Linked DNA regions of Homo sapiens: all the other regions are linked to region 1. Evidence: promoter capture Hi-C in human tissues and cell types (Jung and others, 2019). All regions are on one chromosome and are shown on one strand. Each heading gives the region's core, a stretch centred on a gene start or on the middle of the fragment in contact. The rest is flanking DNA. Distances are from core to core; before and after follow the strand shown.

The links. Contacts are between HindIII fragments. The study calls those that stand out against the background at their distance.
Region 2: a contact is called between a fragment that was not itself captured here and the fragment with the promoter of ZFYVE28 in region 1, in 1 of the 25 tissues and cell types used here (H1 embryonic stem cells).
Region 3: a fragment that was not itself captured here is called in contact with the fragment with the promoter of ZFYVE28 in region 1 in 1 of the 25 tissues and cell types used here (dorsolateral prefrontal cortex).
Region 4: a contact is called between a fragment that was not itself captured here and the fragment with the promoter of ZFYVE28 in region 1, in 1 of the 25 tissues and cell types used here (spleen).

The regions. Positions count from the first base shown.
Region 1 is chr4:2,417,232-2,420,248 of GRCh38, reverse strand. ZFYVE28 (zinc finger FYVE-type containing 28) reads left to right here and starts at 1,604. Exons shown (of 13, transcript NM_020972.3): 1 at 1,604-1,964. The coding sequence starts at 1,926. It overlaps CFAP99 (cilia and flagella associated protein 99), which reads right to left and starts at 1,294. Exons shown (of 16, transcript NM_001193282.4): 1 at 1,156-1,294. RefSeq lists silencers at 1,080-1,129, 1,370-1,599, 1,720-1,879 and an enhancer at 2,885-3,017. The HindIII fragment of the contact is 18,624 bases long and covers 1-3,017 here.
Region 2 is chr4:2,046,314-2,049,249 of GRCh38, reverse strand. No RefSeq gene overlaps it. Among named protein-coding and RNA genes, the nearest start is that of NICOL1, 5.8 kb to the right of the region's middle. The HindIII fragment of the contact is 3,213 bases long and covers 1-2,936 here.
Region 3 is chr4:1,921,385-1,924,591 of GRCh38, reverse strand. The region is part of intron 5 of NSD2 (nuclear receptor binding SET domain protein 2); the gene reads right to left. Among named protein-coding and RNA genes, the nearest start is that of NSD2, 52 kb to the right of the region's middle. The HindIII fragment of the contact is 6,257 bases long and covers 1-3,207 here.
Region 4 is chr4:2,016,417-2,019,254 of GRCh38, reverse strand. LOC124900839 reads left to right here. Exons shown (of 4, transcript XM_047416543.1): 3 at 1,513-1,585. Among named protein-coding and RNA genes, the nearest start is that of NELFA, 8.9 kb to the right of the region's middle. The HindIII fragment of the contact is 5,535 bases long and covers 1-2,838 here.

The DNA.
Region 1 (3,017 bases), core at 355-2,854:
TGTAGGAAATCCCCCAGGGAGGGAGTGGATAGAGTAGGTTCCAAGGACTGAGTCCAGGGTCTCCAGTGTTGAGAGGTCGGTGAGCAGGGGAGGCATCCAGCCAAGGAGATCAAGCAGGAGTGGCCAGGAGCGAGGAGGAGAAGTGGACAGTGGGATCTGTTTCAGCCAAGTGAGGATGCTGTGTCACGGAGAGGGCACAGTCGGCTGGGTCACGTGGTAGTGACAGTTCAAGGAAGAGATGAGCGCTGACCCCGATCATCGGATTTTGCAACATCAAGGTCAAGGATGACTTTGATAAAGAGCTTCAGAGGAGTGGTTGGGTGAAAATCTGATGGGAGTAGTTTCCAGAAAGAACAAGTGGGAAGGAATTGGAGATAAGGGGAAACTCCAGAGGGGTTTTGCCCTTCAGAGGGTCGACTGGGTGGTAGGAAGAGGAGAGTAGGGAAAATCAATCAGTTACTCAAAAATAAACATGGACCCTACCCCCAACTAAGAGAAATCTTAGATGCCAGCGCGCCTAGGCTCACATCGCGTCTGTTGGAATAAAGTGGTCATGGAGCCCACGGACCTTTCTGAGCACCTGGCACTGGCCAGTGAGGACAAGCAGGAACAGGTCAGACTTCTCAATTCTGAACCGAGGGGGGCATGACTTCCATCTCCTGTGTCTTACATCTGCACGTTTCACAACAAGCCAGAGACGTGGTGGTGGTGCGGCAGGGAAAAGTGCAGCGCTGTGGGGTCAGGCCGACCCAGATCCGCCGTGATCTGGATGCAACCCCCACAGCCAGGGCACGCCGGCCTCGTTGTGCCTGCTTCTCTGGCTGTCAATGGGAAGTTTAAGTGAGGCCACGTGTGGGTTTTTAGCTCTCTGCTTGACACATAGCAGGTACTCAGATTGAGGTGAGCGTTTTAAGGTACAAATTAGGGCACCACTGGGGGGAGTAGCGAGGGCGGAAGAGTATCTTTTTAGAACGCACCGCTGATAGTGGTGATTTAAAAAAAAAAAAAGAGGCACCGTTCACTTTCATCGGGGAGCTGGGAAGAAGACAGAAGAGGTGTTTGGGAGAAGCAAGATGAGCAGCGAGCGAGAGGGAACCGGCCGGCAGGTCATGAAAATCGGCGGCGCGTCGCCCCGCACCTGTCCCGCCCCCGTACCTGGCGGGCGCTCGGGGCAGCCGAGCCCTCCTGCCGCCGCCACCTGCCACCGCAGCAGTTTCCTGGGCCAGCTGGGGCTAAGGTGTTGGCAGTCGTCGTCCGTCAGCTCCCGGTAGGCAGGACGCCGCGGCTGTTTGGCGTCGTCACCTAGCAACCGGCGGCACGCTCCGCCGCCATCGGGTGGACTACAACTCCCACAATACACAGCGCCGCGGCGCGGCCCGGGACGCCAAGCCCTGGGCGCCACCTCCCCGCCATGCCTTTCGGGACTTGTAGTTTCTTGGATACCCGGGCGCGGCGGGTCGCCCCGCCGGCAGGGAGCGCGCCTCGGGCGGGGTGCGGCGCCCGCGCAGGGATTGGGCCGCCTCCGCCCCGCCCGCCCCGCCCGCAGCGCGCGGTGGGCCCGGGGCTCGCGGCGCCCTAGGCGCATGTGCGGCGCGGGGCGGCCGTGACCAGCGGAGCGCTGGGTGTCAGTGAGCAGCGAGGAGCCGCGCGCCCCCGTGCCCGCGTCTGTCCGTGCGCCCGAGCGCCCACTCCCGGGTCTGAGGTCTGCCCGGCGCGCCGCTTGCAGAGCATACTCAGGGCCGCGCACCTGCCCCGCGCACCTGCCCGCCGCCCGCTCGGCGCTCCGGGCTTCGCTAGCCAGCCTCCCTGCGACAGCGCGGGGGCTCCGGCCGTGCCTCCGCGTCCGCCCCGCGCCTCAGCCGGGCCCGGGCGCAGCGCTGCGGAGGGCGAGGGCCGCCCGGAGTCCGGCCAGGGCCGGCGCGGCGATGATGAACAGGTTCCGAAAGTGGCTCTACAAACCCAAGGTGAGCGGCCCCGCTCGGGCCGGACGCCCCCCGCGTCGCGGCCTCTCCCTTCCCCAGGACCGCCCGTCCGCCCTACAAGACGGACTCCCTTTCCCTGTCCGTGGCCGGCCTCTTCCCCCACCGCCGACATCCTTCCCTCCACTCCAAGACTTGGACAGATCTTCATCGCCCTGTCTCTGAGGCGGATCCGAACCTCCCTCCCGGCTTCCTAAGCCCGGGTCCAGGACTGACCCTCCTGCTCCTCCTCTCGGGCCGGGGCGCACTTTCCCTCCCCCTCTATCCAGGGCCACAACGGGCCCCTCTCCCTCCTCATCCCGGTCCTGGACGGTGCCCTCCTACACTTCGTGGTCCCCAGCCCGCGGGCCCGGAGCAGACCCCCTACTACTTCTCCGTCTCCCCTCCCTGCACCAGGAATGCCCCCTCATTCCCGTCCTGCCCCCACCCCCATTGTCCTGGGCCCGGAATAGATCTCCCTCCGCACTCCAGAACAGACCCTCTCCCCACTTCCCCAGGTTCTGAGAGAACCCACATTTCCCAATCCCTGGGTCCAGGGCAGACCCGTCCTTCCATGTCCAGAGAGGATCCTGATGGCCCTGCCAACGGCCTCCCTTCCCGAACCAGGACTGACCCACACCTCGGCCCAGTTCGCGTCCCCTCCCTTGTCCCTATCCTTGTCCCTTCCCCACCCACGTCCTCTGGAATCCGGGACAGGTCCTCCGCCCGGCCCTTGGGGCGAGCGCGCCCGTGGCCAGCAGCCTCGGCGGGGCGGGAGGTGCGGCTCTCCAGCCGGCGCCCGCGCCTCTCCTAGCGCCGCGGGGTCGGGGTCCGGGCGGCGCGCCCCGTGCCTCAGCGGCTGCGCCAGTCGCACTGCGGGCGCTGCGTCCCCGCCGCCCGCCTGGGGCTCGTGCCCGCTGCAGCCGGAGCAGGGCCGGGCGCGCTCGGCGCGGGATGAAGGCGCGGCGGTGTTCAGGATCCCGGCGCAGGGTCCAGGGCGCATCTGGGCGTCCGAGGGTGGCACCCTGGGGCCGGCGCAGCGGGGAGGCCCGGGCCCTG
Region 2 (2,936 bases), core at 196-2,695, 370 kb after region 1:
GCGATTCTCATGTCTCAGCCTCCCGAGCAGCTGGAATTACAGGTGCGTGCCACTGTGCCTAGCTAATTTTTTTATTTTGGGTAGAGATGGGGTTTCGCCATATTGGCTAGGCTGGTCTTGAACTCCTGACCTCAGGTGATTCATCCACTTTGGCCTCTCAAAGTGCTGAGATTACACGCATGAGCCACCGCGCCCAGCCCAGCAGTTGCAATTTTTAAAGCTTGCTGTGTAACTTTAGGCCCAAAGATGTGAAACCACCAGTGCCAGACTGGTGCCCATACCAGGCCCTAAACCCGTTGCCCTGAGGCAGTGGCAGAGAAGGCGGAGTTCTCTGTTTATCTGAGTCCCCTGTCCAAAGACAGAGACTGAAGCCCTCTTTCTGTTAAAAGCAGGTTTAAAAAACACTCCAAATAAAATCTAGATGTCAACCAAAAAGAAAACAAAGCTCTGAATTCAGGAGGACTCACCCCTGTGCACCCAGGAAACCTCTGGAGTGAGGGGAGCATGGTGGGTTCCTGCTCATACCACCCCCAAGTCCTGGAAGGAGCCCCAGGTGGTCAGGGAAGAGGGTCACTGAAGCCTGCTGACTTATGCCAGATATGTTGACCTAAAGGGAAAAAACTGAGGCAAAATTAATGTGAAGTGGAGAGTTTACCGGAGCCAGGTTTGAGGACTGCGGCGCCGGGGCACAGGGTCAGGGCAACCCTTTAGGTTCACGCCTTCCAGGGAGGCAACGTGGGTCATGGACAATCTCGAAGGAACTCGCTGATCCATTCAACAACCCCTGCACCCGACGCTCAAGTGCTGACCAGGGTCCCTGCCCAGCCACAGGGGCAGCTCCGCAGTGTCGTCCTAAGGTCGGCCACGTGGACGGCAGGAAGGGCGTCCCAGCAGAGGGATCAGCACGCAAGGGGTCCGGGCAGGAAAAACCAGGCAGTGGAGGCAAGTGAGGGGCTGGCGCGCCTGGAGAGCCAGGGGGCTGGAGGAAGATGAGGCTGGGCTTTGAATGGGGGCCTGGGGCTCCAGAGCAGAGACTGGGGGAACAGGCTGTCATGCTTCTGATGGGGGCCAGGAGAGGGGAGAAGCCATGGTCACTGTCCAGGAGCTCCTGAGCAGTGTCCCCACCCAGACCCCAAGGCCTGAGTGACCTCTGAGGAGAGCGGTCCAGCCCTTACAGGGCCACAGCCTCTGCCGGCCCCTGCCCTCTCCACCTCATCCCCACAGCCTCAGCCTGAGCCTGCCACTGCTCGGCCCCAGCAGCCAGGCCCAGAGACAGAGGCCTGCTCAGCACGCCTTGGTGGCCCTTCCAGTCTCCATCTGCAGACTCCCTCCCACCAGCCTGCCTGGCCTCACCCTCCAGCCCCTACAAGTCACCCAAAGCCCGTGGCCATGTGACCCCCAGTAGCCCTGATGGTCAGCTGAGGCCTGTGCTCCAGCCCCGGGTTCATAGGTACCTGGAAGGCACCAGAACACCGTCAGCTTGGAAGGGTCAGGGCTGGGCTCCAGGAAGCAGCCTGGAAGGTCTGGGAGACCATGGTACTTGCTCTGGGTGGGGGCTGGGGGGCCTAGAGCCCCTCCCCACGACAAGGGGAGAACCCCGTAGGCCACACGGTGCTCCCAGCGCCAGCAGCAGAGCGCCTATATCAGCCCCAGGCTGTCGCCAAGGGCCCATTTTACAGAGGAGGAAACTGAGGCTCGGTCAGGTCAGCCTGTGGGGCAAGAGCGGAAACCCAGACCTGTCGGTCCTCCCTGGCCGCCCACCTCCGCCTCTGTCTCCTGCTTCCCTGAGCGCCCTCCTCACCGGAGACCCCTGCCCCTGCCCCAGTTGCCCCCGCGCCCCGCCTGGCCCATGCAGGCCTCGCCTTCCTGGGAGCGGAGCGGCCGAGACCGTCCGGATTTCAGATGCCAAGCTGAGAGGCGCCCGGGCCTCCGCCGCTTGGATACTCAGGTTCGAGGAGGGCACACCCAACGCAGCGGACGTGGGCAGTGCAGCCCCACCCACGGCAGAGCGGGGACCCGCGAGCCCACGCCCAGGCCGGACTTGCGGGGTCTCCTCCAACGCCGTCGGGGCGCTCCTATCCCGCCGCGAACGCCCCGAGCCCGAGTCCGTGGGGAGGAAGAACAGGGGCGCGGGGAGCCGCCGAGCAGCCCAGGGGAACCCCAGGACGGCGCGGGTCTGGCCACGGTGGGAGGGAGCAGGGCGGGGTGGAACGGAGCTGCGGGTGAGACGGGGCGGGGGGCGGGCCGAGGTCTCTTATGAAGTGGAACTACAGACCGGGAGGCCAGAGGAAGAAGGAGGAAAAGCAAAACGGTCCCCAGGCCCACAGGGCGCCTAACGGGGCTCCACAGGAGGCCGGGAGGTGGGAGTGGCAGAAAGGCGCCCAAGGCCCCAGGCTCGCCCTACCCCGCATCTTCCATGGGAAGATGGCCCAAAACCACACCCCATGCAGCCCTGCGTCCCAAAGACCCCCAGAGCAGGAAGGGAGGGGCTGCGGGGGACCCCTGTAGCCAGCTCCTCCCAGAGCCCTGGCCCAGGCAGCCTCCCTGCAGCTTCCACTGGGGGAGCGCGCGGCCTGCAGGGGCGCCTGGGAAGAGCAGATCTCACCCTCCTGGGCTTCACAATCCAGTGTGGGGTGGCAGGGAGGAAAGAAACAAACACCCCGGGACCCCTCAGGGACAAACGCTTAGAAGAAAATGCGGGGCTGGGTGTGTCGGCGTGCGCTGGGGACCCAGCTACAGGCTCTGGGCTCTGTGGGCTGGTACCGGCACTGTGGGCCCCACTACTCAGGAGGCCCAGTGAGGAGGATTGCTTGAGCCTGGGAGGTTGAGGCTGCAGGGAGCTGTGATGAGGCCACTGCATTCCAGCCTGGGCGACAGAGCAAGGCCCTCTCTTAAAAATAAACTATTTAAGGAGGGACACAGGGCTGCAGAGTGAG
Region 3 (3,207 bases), core at 1-2,500, 500 kb after region 1:
TTATATTACTTTTAGTATAGTGCCAATCCAGACTTTCATTTTTAGCACATTTCTTAGCACTAGAAGGACCATCTGAGATCAATTTGGGTCCCAAAAAGCCAATAGGGTGGTCTTTGGACAGTGGCTTCAATTCTCAGGTACCCATTTTTTTCACAATTCCAAACTAGTGAACAGGTTGTAGAGACACAGCCGAGCAACATACCAGAGTGGCTGACGGGGCGGTTCCCACCCGACACCGCCTTACCCTGCTTCCAGGGCCCAAGAGCATACAGCACCTCACCAACCCTGCGCAGGCCTAGCTGTCAAACACTGGAGTGTCCATTCAGAGCTTGCCACTGCACCCTCCCCCAACATGCCTGAAACGGTGGCTGTACACACATTGCTGATTACTTTATACCATTTTATTTTATTTTTATTTTTGGTAGAGATAAGATCTTGCTATGTTGCCCAGGCTGGTCTCAAACTCCTGGATTCAAGTGATCCTCCCACCTTGCGCCTGGCCTGCTTTGTATCATTTTATATCCAACAATGACCACAGCTACTCCACCAGGTGTTAATGGCTCCTGCCTGGATAGACCTCTTGGCTCCTGGAGAGAGGCACATACCTTCACAGCTGCCCACTTACACTTTTTAGATGGACGCAGAGAAAGGGATAAGTTAAACTCAGTTGTGGGTATGTGGCCCTTTTCAAACTACACAAGTGATAGAATCTGCATACCCTTCAGCAATTTGTTTCTGCTTTGACATCCAATGAGTTCACTTTAATTGATGTGTAGTTACACTGTAGGAACATACCATAGTCTGTCACTGGGTAGCTTTTTGGTTTTGGACACTGTGGTCTCTCTGCGTGCAAGGGCAAAATTACTCTAGGGTAAATATCTAGGAGTAAAACTGTAAGAGAAAAAAAGGCACATCTTCAATTTCACTAGATCTTGCCAAATTTCTCTCAAAACAGGTGTAATAAATGATGTTTCACCAGCATTGTATGAGGAGTCCCACTGTTGCTCATCTTCTCAATCCCTGGCTGTTCTGAGTTTGATGTCTGCTCACCTGATGACTGTGAAGGATGACTGTGAAGGACCATCCCACCAGGATCGTAACATACAGCTTCCTGGGCATGGCCGCAGTTGAGCAGCATCTCTTCATGCACTTACTGGCTCTCCAAGAAACTTGCCCTTCTCCTTCAGAATTGTTTCGGCTCTTTACAGAATTTGTCCTTTCACTGTGTCGATGGTGTCCTTGACACATAAGAATTTTTTTTTTTTTTTTTTTTTTGAGCCAGGGTCTCTGTCACCCAGGCTGAAGTGGTGCAGTGGCTCAAGCAATCCTCCCGCTTCAGCCTCCCAAAGTACTGGGATTACAGGCGTGAGTCACCATGCCTGGCCTAGATTTTCATTTTAACATACATAGTTTTATAGCCTTTATAGCCTGTTATTAGTTTGGCTTATTTAAGAAATCCTTCCCTCTCCCATGGTGACAAAGCTCCTCTCCCATGCTGGCCAAGTTCATAAATCACAGTGGTCCCAGCACCACGTCCAGTGCAGACCTCCCACGCAACTGGCCTGCAGCGCTTTCCCATCCATGTCCACATGCTCGAGAGCCTGTTCTGGGCCCCGTCTTGGGCCATATCACTGCCCTGCGTGAATACTGCTATTTTATTTTTTATGAGACAGAATCTTGTTCTGTCACCCAGGCTGGAGTACAATGGCACAATCCCAGCTCACTGCAACCTCCGCCTATCAGGTTCAAGCAATTCTCCAGCCTCAGCCTCCCGAGTAGCTGGGATTACAGGCGCCTGCCACCATGCCCAACTAATTTCTATATTTTTAGTAGAGATAAGGTTTCATCATGTTGGCCAGGCTAGTCTGGAGCTCCTGACCTCCGGTGATCCGCCTGCCTTGACCTCCCAAAGTGCTGGGATTACAGGCGTAAGCCACCACACCTGGCCAAATACTGCTATTTTAAATAAGATAACTTCCTATCTGGTAGAGCAAATCCTCAGGCCAAGCCTCTCTTCAAATGTGGCCACAGCAGCATCCACTTACAAAGGGCAAATAAATTCCTGTTGGAAGTTTTATTAGAATTATACTGAATTTATAGATTATTAAAGGGAGAATTGACAACTTCAGAAGCTTGAATCTTCCTATATATAAATACATCTTTATTGAGGTCTGCTAAAATATCAGTTATTTTTCTCTAAAGTTACATGCATATTTCGTAATATTGATTCCGCAGTACCTGACATTTTGGTTTCTATTATCAATGGTATCTTTTTTAACATTACATTTCCTCTTTGATGCTGCACTTGTATGTTAATTTTATATCCTGGTGAACTCTATTAATTCTAAAAGATTTTCTGTACATTCTCTTGAGTTTTCTACATAGACTTCTGCAAACAATGACAGCTTTATTTATTCCTTTATAATACTGGCTAGTATTTTCTTGGAGACGAAGACTCATTCTATTGTCTAGGCTGCAGTGCAGTAGTGTGATCTCAGCTCACGGCAACCTCTGCCTCCAGGTTCCAGCAATTCTCTTGCCTCGGCCTCCTGAGTAGCTGGGATTACAAGCGCGCATCACCACGCCTGGCTAATTTTTTCATTTCTAGTAGAGATGGGATTTCACCATGTTGGCCAGGCTGGTCTGGAACTCCTAACCTCAAGTAATCCACCCACCTCGGCCTCCAAAGTGTTGGGATTACAGGCGTGAGCCACCGCGCCCGGCCTAATATTGGCTACTATTTTCCGTACAACGTTTATTAAATGGTGAAAAATGGTTTCCTGTCTTATTCTTTTTTTTTTTTTTTTTTTGAGACAGAGTCTTGCTGTGTTGCCCAGGCTGGAGTGCATTGGCGTGATTTTGGCTCGCTGCAACCTCCGTCTCCCAGGTTCAACCGATTCTCCTTTCTCAACCTCTCAAGTAGCTGGGATTACAGGCGCTCGCCACCACAGCTGGTAAAATTTTGTATTTTTAGTAGAGACGGGGTTTCACCATGTTGGCCATGCTGGTCTCAAACTCCCAGCTTTCATTGATCCACCTGTCTCAGCCTCCCAAAATGCTAGGATTACAGATATGAGCCATTGTGCCTGGCCCTCGTTCATGATTTTAAAGAGAATGCTTTTTTTTTTTAATTTGAGACGGAGTCTCGCTCTGTCGCCAGGCTGGAGTGCAGTGGCACGATCTTGGCTCACTGCAACCTCCACCTCT
Region 4 (2,838 bases), core at 256-2,755, 400 kb after region 1:
CAGTGCTGACCTGAGGGTCTCCCTAGGAGGACAGGCGTGAGCAGAGAATCTGTCTGAAGACAAGGCAAAACTGAAGGTGCAGATGAGGACTTAGTTTGTTAGATAAGAACAGTGGATTCACGAGATCTGAACTCACTGGCCCTTGGTGCCCTTGAGACAGGGACATTCAGACCTGTGTTAGTTCATCCTCTTCCCAAGGAGCTCTTCACAACAGAAGGTGACAAGGACAGACGGACACACAGAATTGTTGTTAGGAGCAAAGTAGTTTCCACAAGGATCAAAATCTTCATCTCATCAGATAATCAAAGCACACGTAAGAAGGCTTTCTCAATCCTGGAACACAAGGAGCTTTCACAAAAGAAAACCAGAGGGTCACGGGGAGAGTGCTGGTTCCAGTCGCAGGTCTCAGGCCATCCTGGGGAGGCCGTCTCAGCCGAATCCCATGGGAACATTTAGGACCATTCACTGCCAACAACTCAACAGTGACTCCCAGAAAACTTGTTTATTTTTAGAGACAGGGTCTTGCTCTGTTGCCCGGGCTAGATTGCAGTGGTGCAACCACAGCTCACTGCAGCCTCAACCTCCTGGGCTCAAGCAATCCTCCCCCATCAACCTCCCAAGTAGCTGGGACTACAGGTGTGCTCCACCACACCCGGCTAATTTTTTAGTGTTTTGTAGAGACAGAGTCTTGCTGTGTTGCCAAGGCTGGTCTCTAACTCCTGGGCTCACGCAATCCTCCCACCTCAGCCTCCCAAAGTGCGCCTGGCCTCATAGGATTTTAGAATCTGGGCTCAGATGGTTGATGGTCTGTCTTTCAGTGCAAGGACTCATTGGGATAGGACAGAGCTTATGGCCCAACAGTGCAGGACAGAGAAACACAGCCAGATGAAGGTTCTGATGAGTGAGCTGGTTCCCAGATTGGTAAACTATGTGCCAGGATACATTGTTCTGCAAGATTTTCCTGAAGCAAACAGTGATTGACTGATTTAGTTTTATCTTCCTGGAAAGAATTTTCTGGAAATAATCATTAAATCAGGTTGACACAGGTGATCTCAGCTCTTGATCCCAAGAGTTAAGTGGACACAGGTGGTCTCAATTCTCATCCCGTCCTCAATATTCTGCCAAGGCCCCTCTGTCTTTTCCATCTCTTTTTTTTTTTCATTTTCTTTCTTTCTTTTTTTTTTTTTTTTTTTGAGACGGAGTCTCACGCTTGGTGCCCAGGCTGGAGTGCAATGGCACGATCTCAGCTCACGGCAACCTCCACCTCCCAGGTTCAAGCGATTCTCCTGCCTCAGCCTCCTGTGTAGCTGGGATTACAGGCATGAGCCACCACGCCCAGTTAATTTTTGTATTTTTAGTAGAGACAGGGTTTCACCATGTTGGCCAGGATGGTCTTGATCTCTTGACCTCATGATCCACCTGCCTCGGCCTCCCAAAGTGCTGGGATTACAGGCATGAGCCACTGTGCCCAGCCTTCCACCTCATTTTCTCTGTCATCATTTTTTTCTCCAGCTTCCAGGAGCCGTCGTAGCAGCCGATTAGGACTGGCTGCTGGTGTGGTGATGACCTAGAGGGCTTCTCCCAGGTAAGGTGAGAAGAGGGATCCACTCACTGCAAGAGGCTGCATAAACTTAACCCAACACTGTAAAGGCTCTCCTCATGAACAAAGCATTAGTAGTCTAGATAAAATACTAACAAGCGAAATCTAGCAACGTGTAAAAAAGAATAACATAGTCCAAGTTGGGCTTATTCTAGGAAAGTAAGGTTTATGTAATTTGAAAGGCAATCAATGTAATTCATCACATTTACAAAATAAAGGTGAAAAAATCATACAATCATCTCAGTATGCACAACAAAACATTTTATAAGAACATTTGATAAAATTAAATGTTGGTCATGATTTTTAAAAACCTGTAGCAAATTAGGAATAGAAGGGAACTTCTTTAATTTGATCTAGGGCACCTTAAAAAATAAGCAAACATGGCCGGGCATGGTGGCTCACACCTGTAATCCCAGCACTTTGGGAGGCTGAGGCGGGCGGATCACGAGGTGAGGAGATCGAGACCATGCTGGCTAACACGGTGAAACCCCATCTCTAATAAAAATACAAAAAATTAGCCGGGCGTGGTGGCGGGCGACTTGTAGTCCCAGATACTCAGGAGGCTGAGGCAGGAGAACGGCCAGAACCCGGGAGGCGGAGCTTGCAGTGAGCCAAGATCACACTACTGCACTCCAGCCTGGGCGACAGAGTGAGAATCCGTCTCAAAAAAATAAGAATAAAAATAAGCAAACATATCACTTAATGGACTCATGTAACAGTGAAAAGTATGGCGGGATAGCTAACAGGCCAACCCTCCCACTGATTAAAGGCTTTGGAGCATAAACCAAAGCAAGCGGATTTTGGAGGGAAGTAAAAACTTGGAGGAAAGGACCAGCCTGGTGAATTTGTTTGTTTGTTTGAGACAAAGTCTTGCTCTGTTGCCCAGGCTGGAGTGCAATGGTGTGATCTCAGCTCACTGCGACCTCTGCCTCCCGGATTCAAGCAATGCTCCTGCCTCAGCCTCCTGAGTAGCTGGGATTACAGGTGCCCACCACTGTGCCCGGCTAATTTTTGTATTTTTAGTAGAGATGGGGTTTTGCCATGTTGGCCAGGCTGGTTTTGAACTCCTGACCTCAGGTGATCCACCTGCCTCGGCCTTCCAAAGTGTTGGGATCACAGGCATGAGCCACCACAGCTGACTGATCCTGGTGAGTTTTAAGGCCATTTTCAAAGCTTAAGCCTGAGGACAGCTAGGGAGCCCCGGCATGGTGCAAGCAGATAACCCTAACAGAAAACTG